Regions from separate parts of the Homo sapiens genome. Here region 1 is linked to region 2. Evidence: promoter capture Hi-C in 16 types of primary human blood cells and fetal thymus (Javierre and others, 2016). All regions are on one chromosome and are shown on one strand. Each heading gives the region's core, a stretch centred on a gene start or on the middle of the fragment in contact. The rest is flanking DNA. Distances are from core to core; before and after follow the strand shown. Region 1 overlaps ALAS1 (5'-aminolevulinate synthase 1). Region 2 holds the start of SEMA3G (semaphorin 3G).

Region 1 (3,425 bases), core at 377-2,876, 240 kb after region 2:
CTTTATCCTAGCAGATGATGGGAAAGACCAAAGGGACAAAAGGCAGCTGGTGGCAGCTCAAGACTGCAGGTTATTTTCAGAAATTAAGTAGTAACTATAAAAGCTGGTCACATCCCACACACGCACCAGAAAGAAAGTCCCACTTTCGCAATACAGTCCCTTGACTGTCTATCTTGAAGACCTTCCTCTCTGGCCCTAAAAGAGGAAGGTGTTTCCATAAATACTGCCCTAATAATAGCTCATACACAAATCTGAGGGCCCAAAAGAACTAAAAGGACCCCTTCACTACCACTAATGGTTCACAACTCATCTCTTACCTTTCCTCACGGCATTCATTTCCTGCACATCCTCCTGAAGCTCAAGACTGGCTTTGCAGAAGACACTGCTGCCTCTCTGATTCATCTGTGCTGCCAGGAAAGGGCATTTGCTTGCAGTGCCCTGGCTTGTGGCAGGCAAGGGGTGTCCAGACGGAAGCTGTGTGCCATCTGGACTCTGCTGGGATCCATCAGGAGTCTGTTGGACCTTGGCCTTAGCAGTTTTGTCTTCTGAGGGAGGAAATGGAAAAAGTGAAGCATCAGATCTGGTTGCACAGTATGTAAGAAAACCACTTATTTCTTTCTTTTATTGCCTCAAAGATAAACTTAATACTTACTGTACCCCACCATCCAGACACAAGTGTTTTTTTTGTTTTGTTTTGTTTTTAAGATGGAGTCTTGCTCTGTACCCCAGGTTGGAGTACAGTGGCACAATCTTGGCTCACTACAACCTCCACCTCCTGGGTTCAAGTGATTCTCATGCCTCAGCCTCCCAAGTAGCTGGGGTTACAGGTGTGTGCCACCATGCCTGGCTAATTTGTGTATTTTTAGTAGAGATGGGGTTTCACCATGTTGTCCAGGCTGGTCTTGAACTCCTGACCTCAGGTTATCCACCTGCCTTGGCCTCCCAAAGTGCTGGGATTATAGGCGTGAACCACTGCACTCAGCCACAAGCTTATTTTTATTAGGTTCTGCTAATCTCTCTAGTTTTTCATCTGCTTCACAGGAAACAATGCGTCTATGAAGAGTTAACTGGCACATTCCAGTTGCCTCTTAAACCCACAGTATTTCTCGTCATAAATCCAAAAAAAGTACCATTTTCTAGTTTTAGACAACCCGGAATCCTTGAGTTGGATCATTTCCAGTAATTTCTACCCCAACTACACTCAGCTTATTTTATGAGAGGACACACTCTGTAAGGTAACGGGAAATATTCACACACATTTTTTTCTCTGCTAACATTTTCCTTTCCTTTTTTTTTGAAACAGGATCTCACTCTGTCAACCAGGCTAGAGTGCATGGTGCAATCATAGCTAACTGCAGCTTTGACCTCCAGGCTCAAGTGATCCTCTCACCTTAGCTCTCCAAGTAGCTTGGACTGCAGGTGTTCTACTGCGCCCAGCTAATTCTTTTTATTTTTTATTTTTTGTAGAGACGGAGTCTTGTTATGTGGCCCTAGCTTCTATCAAACTCCTAGGCTCAAGCAGTCCTCCCGCCTCAGCCTCCCAAAGTGCTGGAATTACAGGCATGAGCCACCACATCCTGTCTCTGCTGACATTTTCTAAACAGATTCTTGACAAAGAGGCTTGCTGTTGCTTAACATAAAAGCTATTGGTTTTCATCTAAACAACAGAAATTAGACTAAGACTTAGGTCTTTAGATTGCTAATAAAGTAAGAAAAAATAGGGGTATATCACATTCACATACCTCATCTACTTTCTCATCTAAATTCATCAAAGTCTGCTGACTAAACACCGTTGGCTGGTAATTATCCTTCTAGCTACAGTGACTTCCCTCTCCCCTTGAGCAAATTCATTCACCTTCTTTCTAGAAAAGTCTTTCTTCATCATTCTGGAACACTCCTGTGAGTCACTGGCTAGCCTTTCCTATAACTTGGGTAAAGTGTCTCAATACAGTTTTCATTAAAATCTTCTATAACGGAAGGCCAAAAAAATTATTTTGAAGTTAATTTCATTTATTATAAAAGTAATACATATTCATTAAAGTCTAGAAAAAGAAAAAAATCCTATCATTTAAAACATAGCCATTGCAAGCATTTTGGTAAAAAAGACGTAACTAACTCTTGAAAATAAACCCTACAAAGGATTAAATCCTTTCTGCTTAAAGAAAAAAAAAACTTATTTTCTTACAAGCCCACACCCAGAGAACACGCCTAAGAAAAACCTGTAAAATATTCTCTGGGATTAAGTGGAACCTGAAAAGCTTTGTTCTCTCCTATCAGAAGCAGAGCAAACTAAATTCAACTCTAGTCTCTTTGTTAAAAACAACAACAACAAATGTATATACAAATAAAGATACATGGCATGATCTCAGCTCACTGCAACCTCTACCTCCCGGGTTCAAGCAATTCTCATGCCTCAGCCTCCCAAATAGCTGGGATTACAGGCGTACACCACCACATCCAGCTAATTTTGTATTTTTTGTAACAGTGGGGTTTCACCATGTGGCCAGGCTGGTCTCGAACTCCTGGCCTCAGGTGATCAAACCACCTCGGCCTCCCAAAGCGCTGGGATTACAGGAGTGAGCCACTGCACACAGCCAAGATAAATTTGTTTTTAAAAATCACTAATAAATACTGTACAATTTCACTTATATGAGGTACCTAGAATAGTCAAATTCATAGAGACAGAAAGCAGAATGGTGGTTGTCAGGGGTTGGGGAGAGAGGAATGGAGAGTTACTGTTTGATGGGTATAGAATTTCAGTTTGGGAAGATGAAAAAAGTTCTGGAGATGGATGGTGGTGGTGACACAACAATATGAATGTACCACTGAACTGCACATTTTTAAGTGCTTAAAATGGTAATTTTTCTTGGGCATTTTACCACAACAGAACAAAAACTTTTAAGAAAAAAAAAATCACTACTTTAAAAAGCCAAAGGGGCCGGGCACGGTGGCTCACGCCTGCAATCCCAGCACTCTGGGAGGCTGAGGCAGGTGGATCATTTGAGGTCAGGAGTTTGAGACCAGCCGGACCAACAAGGTGAAACCCTACTAAAAGTACAAAAATTATCTGGGCGTGGTGGTGCATGCCTGTAATTCCAGATACTTGGAAGGCTGAGGCAGGAGAATCACTTGAACCTGGGAGGTGGAGGTTGCAGTAAGCCGAGACTGCATCACTGCACTCCAACCTGGGCGACAGAGCAAGACTCAGTCTCAAAAAAGAAAAATTAAATAAATAAAAAGCCGAAGGCCAAATGTTTAATGAGGGAAATTAGAAGGCTAAATGTTTAATGAGGGAAATTAGAACATTCCAATTTAATATTTATGTGAACGAGGCACTGAGGAAACACTAAAACCCCTATAGACACTAACGTGCAATCCAAAAACCTGTAATGTGCAACACTGGCCACTGTTTCACCTTTAAAGAT
Region 2 (3,057 bases), core at 14-2,513:
GTGGGGTCCCCATACTCCCAACAACGCCCAGAAGCAAAGGAGGGTCCCAGGAAGGGGCAGAGCTGAGCTGGACCCATTCTCAGCCTGCTCTGTGGCCTGGGCCAGGTCCTTCCCTCTCTGAGTGCCCCGCAAGTTCCCTGACCACCATCAGAGGGCCCAGGCCGGTCCATGTGGGAGGCCCAACCTGCAGGAGCTGTTAGAATCCTGGGAACTCAAACTCCAGCTCAAAATTAAAATCTCTTTAGTGCCCAGGGCCTCAGGTTCTGAGTGTAGGGTTCTGGGGTGGGGTGAGGTGGCGACTGTTCTGGGGCAGGGAGCATGGGGAGGTCCCGTCACTCACCCCAGATTCAGGCCCTCAGTCCCATTTCCCCTTTGGCCCTCTTCTGTGGCTTTCTGTGCCCCCCGCCACCCAGTCAGTATTCAGGGTGGGGGAAGTGACCTCTAAGAGATCATAGGTGTCTGTAGGGCCTATGGGGCATGGGGTCCCTGGGAAGAACCATCACTGACCTGGGGAAGCTCTGGACCCTGAGTCTCTGGAAGGACTGGAGGCCTGAGGGAGGCAGGGCAAGGGGAGGTTCCCTCGGCATGGAGTCCCCTGATGCCCCTGTCCCCTACCCCAAAGCAAGCCTGGTGAGCTGAGATGGGGCATGTAGATGTGGGGAGAGGCTGGGGTGCCTGGAAGCCAGATGGGGACAGGCCTGGGTGGAAGAGGCTGGGCAGTCATCTCTTGCTGGCTCTATGAAGTGTTGCCGGACCTCAAACACCTGTCTAGGACATGGCGCCCCTTGGGCTGGGAATGGCCCTCCACCCTTACCCAGGGGAGCTGGAGAGTCTGGCCAAAGCTTCAGGGGGCTGGAATATCCTGGAATTGGGGCAGGGCCAGTTTGGAAGGTCTCTGCTGTGGGCAGTGGAGGGGCAGAGAACAAGGCAGAGCCCAGCTAGGCCCCTACCCAGCCCATCAACTTTAACCTCTGATCCCTGACCTCCCTTCCAGGCTCTCTCCCCACTTGTCACTTTGCTGGAGCCTGGGGACCTGCATTTGTGGACATCTCTGTACACATGGCCTGTGCCCTAGCTGGGAAGGTCTTCCCAATGGGGAGCTGGCCAGTGTGGCACAAAAGCCTGCACTGGGCCAACAAGGTGGAAGGAGAAGCGGCAGGTGGACGGCAAGGCCCCAGCCTCCTTCTCTCCTCCGCCCCTCTTCCCGCCCAGGACTGGGTGGAGCCACTGCCTTATAAGTGGTGGCCTGGTGGCAGCAGAGCAAACTACAACCGGCGGCCAGCGGGACCAGAGGGCGGCTCTGCAGGCAGGCGGCAGCGGTGCCCTCAGTTCCCCAGCATGGCCCCCTCGGCCTGGGCCATTTGCTGGCTGCTAGGGGGCCTCCTGCTCCATGGGGGTAGCTCTGGCCCCAGCCCCGGCCCCAGTGTGCCCCGCCTGCGGCTCTCCTACCGAGGTACCAGCCCCTGCGTGCCCTGTTTGTGTGCATGTGCCCTGTTTGTGTGTGTGCGCTCTGTTTGGGTGCATGTGCCGTGTTTGTGTGCATGTGCCCTGTTTGGGTGCGTGTGCCGTGTTTGTGTGCATGTGCAGTGTTTGTGTGCGTGTGCCGAGTTTGTGTGCGTGTGCCGAGTTTGCGTGTGCCGTGTTTGTGTGCGTGTGCCGAGTTTGTGTGCGTGTGCCGAGTTTGCGTGTGCCGTGTTTGTGTGCGTGTGCCCTGTTTGTGTGCGTGTGCCCTGTTTGGGTGCATGTGCCGTGTTTGTGTGCGTGTGCCCTGTTTGGGTGCGTGTGCAGTGTTTGTGTGCGTGTGCCGAGTTTGTGTGCGTGTGCCCTGTTTGGGTGCGTGTGCCGAGTTTGTGTGCGTGTGCCATGTTTGTGTGCGTGTGCCCTGTTTGGGTGCGTGTGCCCTGTTTGTGTGCGTGTGCCCTGTTTGGGTGGCTTGGGCTCTTGGGTGCCTGGTCAGCTGTAGGGGAGGGAGCCTCTCCCTGCACAGCTCTCGGGGAGTGGGAGGGAGGCAGGTCCTGGGAGACAGGACCAGGGTGGCGGTGGGAGGCACCTGAGGGGGAGTGCTGAGAAAGGGACAGATGGAGACCCTGAGAGAGCTCAATAAAGATGGGGAGGAGACAGAGGAAGGGACCAGGCAGGGGAGAGTGACAGAGAGGGTGGGGCTGAAGGGTCTGTCTGGGCTCAACTGGCACTTTTTGCCCAGGGTGGCCAACGGGAGAGCAGGCAGCATGCTATCCCTTGGTCCTGGGGCCACAGAGAAGGGGAGGACCCCCCTTGCAGCCCACTTCCCAGAGTGGGCTTGTTCATGTGCTCCTGCACCCAAGAAGCGCCCCAGCCCAGGGGGAGTTTCACCTCCCCTTTTTGCACATCCCAGCCTGGGGGTTCCTGTGTTCTACCCTAGACATGTGAGCCGGCTCAGGCCTCCACGGATGGGCCCAGGGAAGGCCCGAGACAGGCTCTTGGCAGATCCTTCCTGAGGAAACCAGAGGGGTGACCACCTTCCCCTGGGAAGCCCAGTCTGCTGGGGGAGATGGCGCTCGTCCCTGGAGAGGCTGAGGGGAATGTGGTCTTGTTCCGGGAGCTGTGGTTTTGCGGGGAGGTCAGACTGCTAGAAAAAGCCCCAAATAGGGAAAGTTCCCCAAGGTACTGTCATCCATGGAGGGCTTCCCGGAAGAGACCGTTGATGAGTTTTGGGGGTGGAATGGGTGTTGGGTAGAGGTGCTTCCGTAGGGAAGGCATAGGACACTCTGGGCCTTCCCAAAGGTGGCCAGCACCCTCTTCCTGCCACATCCTACTGCCCCCATTACCTCCACCTCCCTAGCCAAGCCCGGAGGACCTACCTCAGGATCCTCAACTCCTGGGACCGATGTCCCCAGACAGCTCCCCGCTCTCATCTCTGGGGTGGGATAGCCAGCATCTGTGGGGAGAAAATTGTCTTTGGCCGCATCCCTGGACTGGAGGTGGGAGCCCTTCCCGGCCATACCTTCCCTTTTCTGCACCCAGGCCATTGCCAGGGGTCCCCTCTGCTGGGAACAGTTTCGCCTGCTGGCCCACCCT

Evidence for each region. Contacts are between HindIII fragments. The CHiCAGO score rates a contact against its expected background, and 5 or more counts as called.
Region 1: a fragment that was not itself captured here is called in contact with the fragment with the promoter of SEMA3G in region 2 in 1 of 17 cell types (total B cells); the score reaches 5.5 in total B cells.

Annotation. Positions count from the first base shown.
Region 1 is chr3:52,199,627-52,203,051 of GRCh38, reverse strand. ALAS1 (5'-aminolevulinate synthase 1) reads right to left here. Exons shown (of 12, transcript NM_000688.6): 4 at 318-545. Among named protein-coding and RNA genes, the nearest start is that of ALAS1, 3.2 kb to the right of the region's middle. The HindIII fragment of the contact is 1,269 bases long and covers 992-2,260 here.
Region 2 is chr3:52,443,309-52,446,365 of GRCh38, reverse strand. It overlaps SEMA3G (semaphorin 3G), which reads left to right and starts at 1,263. Exons shown (of 16, transcript NM_020163.3): 1 at 1,263-1,453. The coding sequence starts at 1,339. RefSeq lists enhancers at 413-1,289, 1,290-2,166. The HindIII fragment of the contact is 14,119 bases long and covers 845-3,057 here.